Regions from separate parts of the Homo sapiens genome. Here regions 1 and 3 are each linked to region 2. Evidence: promoter capture Hi-C in human tissues and cell types (Jung and others, 2019). All regions are on one chromosome and are shown on one strand. The core of a region is centred on a gene start or on the middle of the fragment in contact, and the rest is flanking DNA. Distances in the headings are between cores, read along the strand shown. Region 1 holds the start of CLSTN1 (calsyntenin 1). Region 2 holds the start of PIK3CD (phosphatidylinositol-4,5-bisphosphate 3-kinase catalytic subunit delta). Region 3 overlaps CTNNBIP1 (catenin beta interacting protein 1).

The links. Contacts are between HindIII fragments. The study calls those that stand out against the background at their distance.
Region 1: a contact is called between the fragment with the promoter of CLSTN1 here and the fragment with the promoter of PIK3CD in region 2, in 5 of the 25 tissues and cell types used here (IMR-90 fibroblasts, adrenal gland, bladder and 2 more).
Region 3: a contact is called between a fragment that was not itself captured here and the fragment with the promoter of PIK3CD in region 2, in 2 of the 25 tissues and cell types used here (dorsolateral prefrontal cortex and mesenchymal stem cells).

Annotation. Positions count from the first base shown.
Region 1 is chr1:9,822,351-9,825,631 of GRCh38, forward strand. It overlaps CLSTN1 (calsyntenin 1), which reads right to left and starts at 1,615. Exons shown (of 19, transcript NM_001009566.3): 1 at 1,293-1,615. The coding sequence starts at 1,383. RefSeq lists silencers at 1,337-1,416, 1,427-1,576, 1,747-1,796, 1,817-1,876 and enhancers at 1,489-2,205, 3,266-3,281. The HindIII fragment of the contact is 7,682 bases long and covers 1-3,281 here.
Region 2 is chr1:9,650,186-9,653,256 of GRCh38, forward strand. It overlaps PIK3CD (phosphatidylinositol-4,5-bisphosphate 3-kinase catalytic subunit delta), which reads left to right and starts at 1,546. Exons shown (of 24, transcript NM_005026.5): 1 at 1,546-1,617. PIK3CD-AS1 (PIK3CD antisense RNA 1) reads right to left here. Exons shown (of 2, transcript NR_027045.1): 2 at 2,425-3,071. RefSeq lists a silencer at 1,459-2,348 and an enhancer at 2,529-2,598. The HindIII fragment of the contact is 15,008 bases long and covers 1-3,071 here.
Region 3 is chr1:9,889,536-9,893,031 of GRCh38, forward strand. All of the region lies in intron 1 of CTNNBIP1 (catenin beta interacting protein 1), which reads right to left. Among named protein-coding and RNA genes, the nearest start is that of CTNNBIP1, 19 kb to the right of the region's middle. The HindIII fragment of the contact is 3,526 bases long and covers 459-3,496 here.

The DNA.
Region 1 (3,281 bases), core at 365-2,864, 170 kb after region 2:
CGATGTTTAGAAAGGAACATGGAACAAAAGATGCATTTGCCGCCTCTGCCCTTTAATTCGTGAACACCATACTTCTCTCCTTATGTCACGCCAGGGAAGGGAAAATAAGAATTTTTAAAAAGCTTGCTAAATTCAAATATGACCATTTCATCTAGATTTCTATCAATCCTCCTCCCCAAAATTTCTTTTGATTAAAAAAAAATCAGAACAACAGATTTAAGCCTACAGTAGATTCTACAGACTACACCTAGATTACTCTGCTCTAAGGCCAAGGAAAATGTTTACGATTTCAAGATCCACTCAGAAGCAAATACTGTATCTGCAATGCGTAAGCTTTTCGTTGGCAAGACCAGTCAATAGCAGAGGCATGCAAGGTTTAAAAGGTTAAGTGGATGAAGGTTAAAAGCTAATAATAAATTAGCCAAGAAATACTACTTCCCACCGAGCCATAAAATAATTTCGGTCCTACAATCCTAAAAAACCAGAGAGGTTTCTCGTTTTTGTAGAGAACATCTAACCCTCCACGGTCTAAATGACCGTCAGAAAAACAGCACCAAGGCACCAGGGGTAGCAGAGACGGAGATTTCTAACACTGGGTGAGCCCGCGGTCGCAAATCTCATCGCGATTTCACCTTTGGGTGAAAAGGTGGGAGGGAAGCACTAAGTTTCAGCCTCGGCTCCACTGGAAACAGACAACGTCTGAAGGACTCTGGGAGGAGGCGGAAAGGGGCGAAGTCGTGGTGTCCGCGGTGCAGCAACACAGAATCGGGATCTTGGAAACGGGATGCGGAGGAGTGGGCTCTTATGTAAGCACACACCAAAACTGTGCGTGCACCCCCCGCCTGATGCACATCTGAGCACACGTACACAGAGCATCTCACCCAGGGGTGCAGCCCCAGCCTGCGTGCGCCGCTGAGCAGGGCGGACTGACCCTTCGGCCCGTCTGCACGTTCCCCCAAATCAGCGCAGCCACCACCATGGGCTGCAGTGGGGGCAGCCCAGGCTCAGGAGCCCCGCCCGGGACGGAGCCTGGCTTCCCCGGGACGCCTGCAGCGCGCGCCCACAGTCTCCTGCGCCCTGGCCCCGGCTCCGCGAGCCCGACCCCCAACCCGAACCCCACGCCCTGACCCGGCTCCCTGCGCTCGGACCCGACTCCCCGCATCCCGGCTCGAATCCCGGCATCCGGCCCTACTCCCGCACCCGGACCCGAATCCCCGCACCGGGACCCGAATCCTGCACCCGGACCCGAATCCCGCACCGACCCAGCGGCCCGGCCCAGCCCCGGGGCTTACCTCGCGCGGCCCAGACCCCGCCGCCGCACAGCAGCCCGGCCAGCAGCAGCCGGGCGGCCGGGGCCAGCGCGGGAGCGGGGCGGCGCAGCATCGCCAGCCCGGGGCGGGAGCGGCAGGGAGGCGCGCGGGACGCCGAGCGGAGCTCTCGGAGCTCTCGGGGCTCTAGGGGCCTGGGGCTAGCTGCTCCGCGGCGCGGGGAGCTCCGGGGGTCCAAGGAGGAGCCGCCGCCGCCGCCGCCGTGACGCTGGGCCGCGCGCTCAGGACGCGGCGCCCTCCCCGCCTCAGAGCAGCGTCTTGCTGAAGGCAGCGGCAGCAACTAAGATGGCGGCGGCGCTCTCTCTCGGGTCCGGCGAGGGTACCCGGCCGGGGGCGGGGTGGCGGCGGGAGGGGCGGGGATGGGGAGCGACGCGAGGCGCGCGCGCGGCGGACCCTGGGAGCGCGCGGGCCCGGGAGGGGCGGGGGAGAGGAGCGGAGGGAGCGCGCGCGGCGGACCCGGCAGCGGGCGCGCGCCTCCGAGCCCGTCGGCCCCGCCTGGAGCGCGCGCCCGCGGGGACGCGCCTGGGGTGGGTTCCGAGCGGCCGGGAGGGGCCCGGGGGACTGTATCCCTTTCCCTGGCCGCAGATGGAGAGCCTCAACTCCGCGTCCCTACGCGCGCTCCCGGGCTCCTAAGGCCGGGTGAGCGGTACCCGGGGACCCGCTCCTCCTTCTCCACCCCGAGGACTCATCCTTCCCACCCGCTCCGCCGAGGAGCGCAGACCCCGGCGGAGCAGTGCGGCCCAGGACCCTTGTCACTTCGGGCAGGTCGCGTCGCCCCCCAGAACCTCGGGGTCCTCGTCTCCCCAGTAGAGGTGTTGAGAGGGGTCACGAAAGGGGGTCCAGGAGACGAGGTCAGCGAAACGCGCCTGGTAAACAGTTAAGGGCCGCGCAGCACTACCCACACCGGCTCCCGCCCCGGGACCTGCCCCCGGGGAGTCTGTCCTGAATTCACTGAAGGAATCTATTTGTGACTTTCAAAAGGCGGCTGGTGTGCGCGCTCTTTCTCAGTGACATGGTGCGATGCTGGTTCTTAGAAATGCGGAGGTCCGAATGGATAGAGAGGACAGAGAAGCCCTCCCCCTCTACCGTGGATCCCTACAGGGATCTTGGGGTCCTCCCAATTTCCCAGCGTCCAGCGGCCCCCTCCTCCTCGCCTCTGGACCCCTGGCACCCCCCCGCAGTGGAGGAAAGGCCTGGAACAGCCGTGGATGGGCGTGTGTGCAGGCACTGTACCCTATGAGACACTACTGGCTCCATTTTGCAGATAAGGAAACTAAGTCAGAAAGGTGAAATGACTTCCCCCGTTGGGACAACTATTGTAAAAAGAATCAGCCCTCAAGGACAGGATGTTCGCATTAGGGGGACACCAACAGCAAAAAGTGGAACCCTAAAATGTTCATTTTTCGAGACCGCTGGAGGAGCTATCCATGAATGTCACTGCTCCAGGTGGGGGTGGAGGAGGCTGGCAGCACTGGAGGCTGGGTGGAGACTGGTTTGTGGGGCGCAGAGGACTTATTTAGGAGACTAGTGGGCAAAGAGCCCAAAAACGTAGACTGAGGTCAGATTGGGGGAATGGACTTGATCCTACAGTCAACAGGAAGACCTGGAACGGCTGGGAACAGCGGTGTGATGTGACCTGGGGAAGGCTTCAAAAGCAATCTGGAATCCAACTCCCTGAGCCGTGTTCCCCGTAAGCGTCCTGCACCAAAGCCTACAGATTCCATCTTGTTAATGTCTCTCCTTCCTTCCCCTGCTCCCCCTCCCCTGCGTGGAGGAAGACCGGACTCTCCTTGGCTGGACCCTTCCCAAAGCACCTGCCTGGCCCGGGCAGGCTCCAAGCCACACCCACCACTCCTTCCAGCCAAGGCTTTGAGTCATCCTCTCCCCTGGTGACGGGTGTTGCCATTGCTTCTGCCCCTCCTGGAGTTATAAACTCAGTGAGTGCCTCCCTGC
Region 2 (3,071 bases), core at 296-2,795:
GCCTGAGGCGGGTGGATCATGAGGTCAGGAGTTCAAGACCAGCCTGGTGAACATGGCGAAACCCCACCTCTACTAAAAATACAAAAATTAGCCAGGCACGGTGGTGTGCACCTATAGTCCCAGCTACTCAGGAGGCTGAGGCAGGAGAATTGCTTGAACCCAGGAGGCTGAGGCTGTGGTGAGCCAAGATCACGCCACTGCACTCCAGCCTGGGCAACAGAACAAGATTCCTCAAAATAAACAAAACAAAGAAACAAAACAACAAAAAACAAACAAAAAAACATGAAAATCAGCTGGGTGTCGTGGCGTGTGCCTGTAATCCCAGCTACTTGGGAGGCTGAGGTAGGAGAATTGCTTGAACCCAGGATGCAGAGATTGCAGTGAGCCGAGATGGCACCACTGCATTCCAGCCTGGACAACAGAGCAAGACTGTCTCAAAAAAAAGAAAAGAAAAAAGAAAAAGAAAGAAAAGAAAAGAAAAAAAGGAATAGAGGCTTGGGATCCTGGGGAGGTGGTACACAAGTTAAGGGAGAGTGAGGGGAGAGAGGGTAAGGTGAATGAAGCTTGTCTTCTTATGCGGATAAAATTTCTCAGGTAAGAAAAGTTAGCTCTGAGCAGCCCTCCGCCTGATACTAATACTTTACCAATGGAGATTTTCCTTTTCTTTTCTGTTTTTGAGACAGGGTCTCACTTTGTTTCCCAGGCTGGAGTGCAGTGGTGCCATCATGGATCACTGCAGCCTCCATTTCCCTGGCTCAAGCCATCCTCCCACCTCAGCCTCCCGAGTAGCTGGGACTACAAGGTGTGCACCACCACGACTGGCTAATTTTTAATTTTTTTGTAGAGACGGGGGTTTCCCTATGTTGCCCAGGCTGGCTTGAATTCCTGGGCTCAAGTGATCCTCCCGCCTCGGCCTCCCAAATTGCTGGGATTGCAGGAGTGAGCCACAGTGCCAGGCCTGGAGATTTTCTTTATAGATAGAAATCATTTTACAAAAGGACAGCTTTTCAGATCTACTCCTGTGCCTGCAGTTTCTAAGAATAATCCCTTCAAAATATGGCGAAGAAGTATATTTTGGGGTGGCACACGCTGGTCTCCCATAGTCACATTTTGGGTGTGTGTCCTGAGCCCCAACACTGGTCACCTCGCAATGGCGCTTGGGGTCCCTGGGTGCCTAGAGCTGCAGGTTACCCCCTCTTCTTCTCCTGCTCTCAGCCTTTCTCCCGCTCCTGCTGAAATTCTTTCCTGCGTGAAGGCGGAGCGCTTAAAGGCGCCTAGGACCTTTATTTCGTTGTTTTCCTTTGCATAAAAAGAAAACTTGTTTTGTAGAAGGGCAAGCAAGGTGCAGCTTCCAGAGGCACCTGGGATGATGCCCCTCTAGCGGTAGGCGAACTGGGGAGTGTGGGCGGCGGGGGAAGGCGAGGCCCTGGAGGACCTGTTGTTTTTCCTGTTGCAAGTGAAAAGGAAACAAAGTGGGAAGTGGAGTGTGCGGGTTGGCGGCAGGCGGGGCGCCCCGGCGCGCCCCGCCTCCCTCCCTCGAGGCTCACTCGCGCCCAGCGCAGTCGCTCCGAGCGGCCGCGAGCAGAGCCGCCCAGCCCTGCCAGCTGCGCCGGGACGGTAAGCGATCGCCGCTGGCTGCGTCAGGGGAGGTGGGAAGAGGACCGCGGCCAGGGGCTTTGGGAGCTGCGGCTGCGCTCGGGGGCGCGGGGCTGGCTGGCGGGCGTCTCTCCGGCACACACAGCCCGTGCGCCCTGGCCCTGGGCGCCTCCCCGAGTCTAGCGAGCCGGGTCCTGGGAGCCCCGGGGGCCGGGCTGCTGGGACCTGGGCGGGGGCTGCCCTAGAGGCCCGGGGCCGTCCCCCGTGGGCCCGCCGAGAGGGGCGTGCGCAGCTCCCCGGCGCCTGCACTGCGCGCCTTGCCCGCCTGGCCCGGCAGCGGGGTTTCAGCTGCGCTCACAGCGGCGGTGCGGCCTCCGGTGCGCCGGCTGAGGCGCGAGGATACTGGAAGCGCTCAGCGCGTGCGCCCGCTCCGAGCGCTGACTAGAGGACCAGGGGCCTCCTCTGTACGGCAGCGGGGTCCACAGAGAGCGCGCTGGTGATGTCGCCCGAGTGCCCTGGCGCGGAGAGAGGGCTGCGCACAGTTCGCCGGCGCCCGGGTCCTGTGCGCCCTTCCCAGCCTGGGCAAGTGGGGAGCGGGGCTGCAGAGGGGCCGGGGTGGAAGTTTTCGGGGCTTCCTCCCGGCTCGTGGACCCGCGCCCCGCCTCCCAGTCCCGGGCCTCCCGCGTTGCTCGCCGCGTTTGCTGCAGCGGCGCAGGCGAGATCAGCTCCGGATCTGCGGCCGAGCCGGGGTTACGCCGGCAAAACCGCCCCCAGCTTTGCATTTCCGGACTTTTTAAAAAAATACTCTTACCCGTAATTCAGCCTGAATGAGGCTTTTTAAAAAAATCGAGTTTCCTGTTTTTATTTAGGCTTCCTCATTTGCACCTCCTCCTTTGAGGTAGAGAAGAGGGGAACTGGGACGACCTTTCGTGGGCACCAGGATGGGGGCGTTGCAGGGCGGGGAGACGGGGGTCCAGAGAACCGGGGAAGGGCCGCTGGGAGGTCCCGAAAAGTGCGCTGTGGGTGGGGCGAGGGTGAAGCAGGTAGGGGCGAGATTTCCGGGGTCGCGGGTGGGGGGCGCCCTGGAGCGGCCAAGGTGCAGGGTCCTCGCGTGGCACCCTTGGGATCTGCCCAGTTTGCGGATGGAGCGCGGGGCTGATCGGGCAGGTCTCACTTGTGCAGGTGTTCCCTGGAAGGTGGGACCTGCAGATCTTGAACCCCACCAGACTCCATCAAGGGGGCTTCTTCCCGCCGATTCCTGAGAAGTCCTACCTCTGAGATGCTGGGCACAGCCGCACGTGGATGTGGGCGGGTGTGCCGTGGGTTGGAGTGGGAAGGGGCAATTATTCCTCTCTCAGGGCTCTCGGAGGGGAAGGTTTACTGCTCCCTAGGGACTTTGAAACCAAGGGCTAACCCCCTGCTCTCTTCCAGGAGAGTGGGATACCGCCCGGGTGCCTGACGGTGCCTTGGTGTTC
Region 3 (3,496 bases), core at 972-3,471, 240 kb after region 2:
TTCCTGAGACCAAGCCTCACAGATGTTCTCTGCTCTACAACACCTTCTCTGGGCTGCCTCGAGGCCTGTGTCTGCACATCCGCCTGCATTTCCTCTTCTCGCATCACCGCCCCAACACTGTACCTGGATATCTGAGAAATGTTCACCACCAGACTGGAAGCTCTTTGAGGACAGACCGGGGGTGGTTTTAAGGCCTTTATAGGCCCCAGGGAACCTTATTCTCAGAGACATACTAAAACAAACCCACATCTCTTATTAAATGTAATCCTCACGTAACTCACAAGAGTAGAGGGAGTGATATATTTTTTTCCCACATGGCCAATATTTTTGTGGACCCTAGAAAAACTTGTAAGGCTCTGTGCTGAAGAATCTGGACAGGTGAGACACCACTGCTAGCCACAACTGGGGCTCCTCGAGTGGTGAAGTGAATGGGAACCATGAAGGAAGTGCCCCCCAGCCTTTGCATGGCCTCACTTCAGATAATCCTAACACACCAAGGAGCTGGAGGAACCTGCATGTTCCTATAACTGGATTGGCATGAGGCATCTGTTTACATCTTCTGGTTTAAAATATTTATCCTTGTGATTCTGGCCCAGATCTCGTTGTCTCTCCAGTCCTGAATTGAGTGAAACCCACCTTTTTACAGAGGCAAGAGTACCTGGCAGGCCTGCTCTGACAGCCTCTTGAAATTCAGCTGAAAACAATGCAAACAGGAAGGCATGTGGAGCCTGAGGAAGTTTCCTTGGCTGCCCCAGAACACTGAAGATCCTGGGCTATGTCTTCAGGCTCTACTGTTCTAACCAAGGGGACGTGCTGGTGGAGGTTTTCTCTCTGCACAGTGGGGGGACAAGGACAGAAGAAAAGAAAGGCATCTTTCGGCTTAATTTTAAAAGAGGTTCTTTTTTCTTCCCAGAGAACAGCTGGAGCCCTGGAACCTGGCCAAGTCAGAGCCTGAGACCTGAAGTCAGGAACCAGCACGCCTACAAAATCCAGCCACGGATCTTCCTTTAATTCAGTCTGACTCATTACCTTCAGCCTCTGGCAGGTTCCAGAGGGGTTACTAATGCAGAATCCAGAGCCTTCTTCTATTTATAAGCCAATGGAAGGGCTGGAATCCTAGCTCTTGCATGGGTACAAGCGCCCCCTCACTCCTGGGTATGAGGCCTCCCAGGCCTGACCGACCTTCCCCATGGGCTGTGCACCTGGCAGGAAGCTTCCTGAGCAAAGGCATCAAAAGATCCTCTGTGTCAACTGGAGGTAGAGGAACGCTTTTTCTCTCCTGGGACACCAGAGAGATCCCCAGCAAGCTGACTAAGTCCCCAAAAGGCAAATTAATTTGCATTTCTGTCAGGAAGGGACCACTTCCAGACCTAGTAATTCCAGGGATGGAGCCTGGCCCAGAGGTTCTGGAGAGCATGGGTCACCTCCAGAGAGTGCGGGTCACCTCCAGAGAGTGCGATCAGACTGGAAATTTTGACCTATGGAAGCTCCATCAATCCCGCTGTCAAAAGCTATGCCAGCTCTTTGCAGGGTCACAGCTTAAAATTTTAATTACATTAGGAAATTTAAAAGTACTTCAAGAAGAAAGGGGGAAAACTGACACAGTGCTATTTTTGGCGGGGGTGGGGGGCACTCACGTTTCTCCACAAGGTACATAAGGTCCCTTCACTCTGAACCACACTGACATGTTCACGCCACCCCATTCCCACAAGGACAAGCCTCATCCTCAGAGGCAGGCCTGGGCATGGCCCGGCCCTCCCATTGCCTGAGGGTCACCCAGATCTTCTCAACAGGCACCTCTCTCTCCAGCTCTTCTCCCCTTGCCCCATTCCCTCCATAGCTTTCCCTCATTAAAGCCTCTATAATTGGTTCAAACAAACAAGCTTCCTGAACTGAGTTTGCTGCATCCCCTCAGAATCCCAGGGCTGGGAAAGCCTCCAGCTTCCTGTGGTGAGGATTAGGTCATTAAATCAATTGGATCGGCTGCAGGACTGTGCCCCCGGAAGCAGCCCCCTCCTCACCACCCGGCTCTGGGGATGGTCATCCTCAGGACCTGGCTGAGAGACCCCAGGTGCAGCCTCCTGGGGAAACGCTTCCCAATCAAACTCTTCGGAAAATAAGTTTTGTTGGGCACAGTGGCAAATGCCTGTAATCCCAGCACTTTGGGAGACTGAGGTAGGAGAATTGCTTGAGGCCTGGACTTCAAAACCAGCCTGGGCAATAAAGTAAGACCCCATCTCTTTAAATTTTTTTTTTTTTTTTTTTTTTTTTTTTTGGAGATGGGGTCTCGCTCTTTCCCTCTGTCGCCCAGGCTGGAGTGCAGTGGCGCAATCTCGTTTCACTGCAACCTCTGCCTTCCAGTCTCAGGTGATTCTCCTGCCTCGGCCTCCCGAGTAGTTGGGACTACAGGTGCGTGCCACCATGTCCAGCTAATTTTATTTTGTATTTTTAGTAGGGACAGGGTTTTGCCATGTTGGCCAGGCTGGTCTCAAAATCCTGACCTCATGTGATCTGCCTACCTCAGCCTCCCAAAGTGCTGGCATTATAGACATGAGCCACCGAGCCTGGCTTCTACAAAAAATCTTTAAAAGATTAGCTGGGTGCAGCCTGGGCGCGGTGGCTCACGCCTCTAATCCCAGCACTTTGGGAAGCTGAGGCGGGCGGATCATGAGGTCAGGAGATCAAGACCATCCTGGCTAACACGGTGAAACCCCGTCTCTACTAAAAATACAAAAAATTAGCCAGGCGTGGTGGTGGGTGCCTGTGGTCCCAGCTACTCGGGAGGCTGAGGCAGGAGAATGGCGTGAACCCGGGAGGCAGAGCTTGGAGTGAGCCGAGATCGCGCCACTGCATTCCAGCCTGGGGGACAGAGCGAGACTCCGTCTAAAAAAAAAAAAAAAAAAAGATTAGCTGGGTGTGCAGTGGCTTGCACCTGTAGGCCCAGTTACTTGGGAGGCTGAGGTGGGAGGATCCCAAGAGCCCAGGAGTCTGAGGTTGCAGTGAGCTATGATCACACCACTGCACCCCAGCCTGGGCAACAGAGCGAGACTGTCTCAAAAAAAAAAAAAGAAAAGAAGTTTTAAGGCCACTGCCTCTTTCCAACAGGCTGTCAGCATAAAGGTATGTGTTAATTTGCATAAAGATATAGGTGTATCTGTTTACTTCGCAAATACACCCATCTGTGCTACAGAGGCCAGGGTTCCTGGCTCCACGCATCACGTGAGCCACACTGCTTGCTTGTTTGGGTGATTGCTTCTGCTCTACTAAGCAGGAGGCGACCTTCCTGATCCTTTCCCCTCCAGCTACCTCGGAACAAAACATAATCCAAGGAAGGAGGAAACCTCCCCCTAAGAGGCTGTTGAGGACTCAGTTTCCTTCCTCTCCAAATGTTTAACAAGCCAATAATCAAAATCAACAATGCTTTAAACAAAGACCCCTTCAGAATCTCCCATGTGTTTATCCCATTAACTTACTGTGGGAAACGGTATCGGGACAA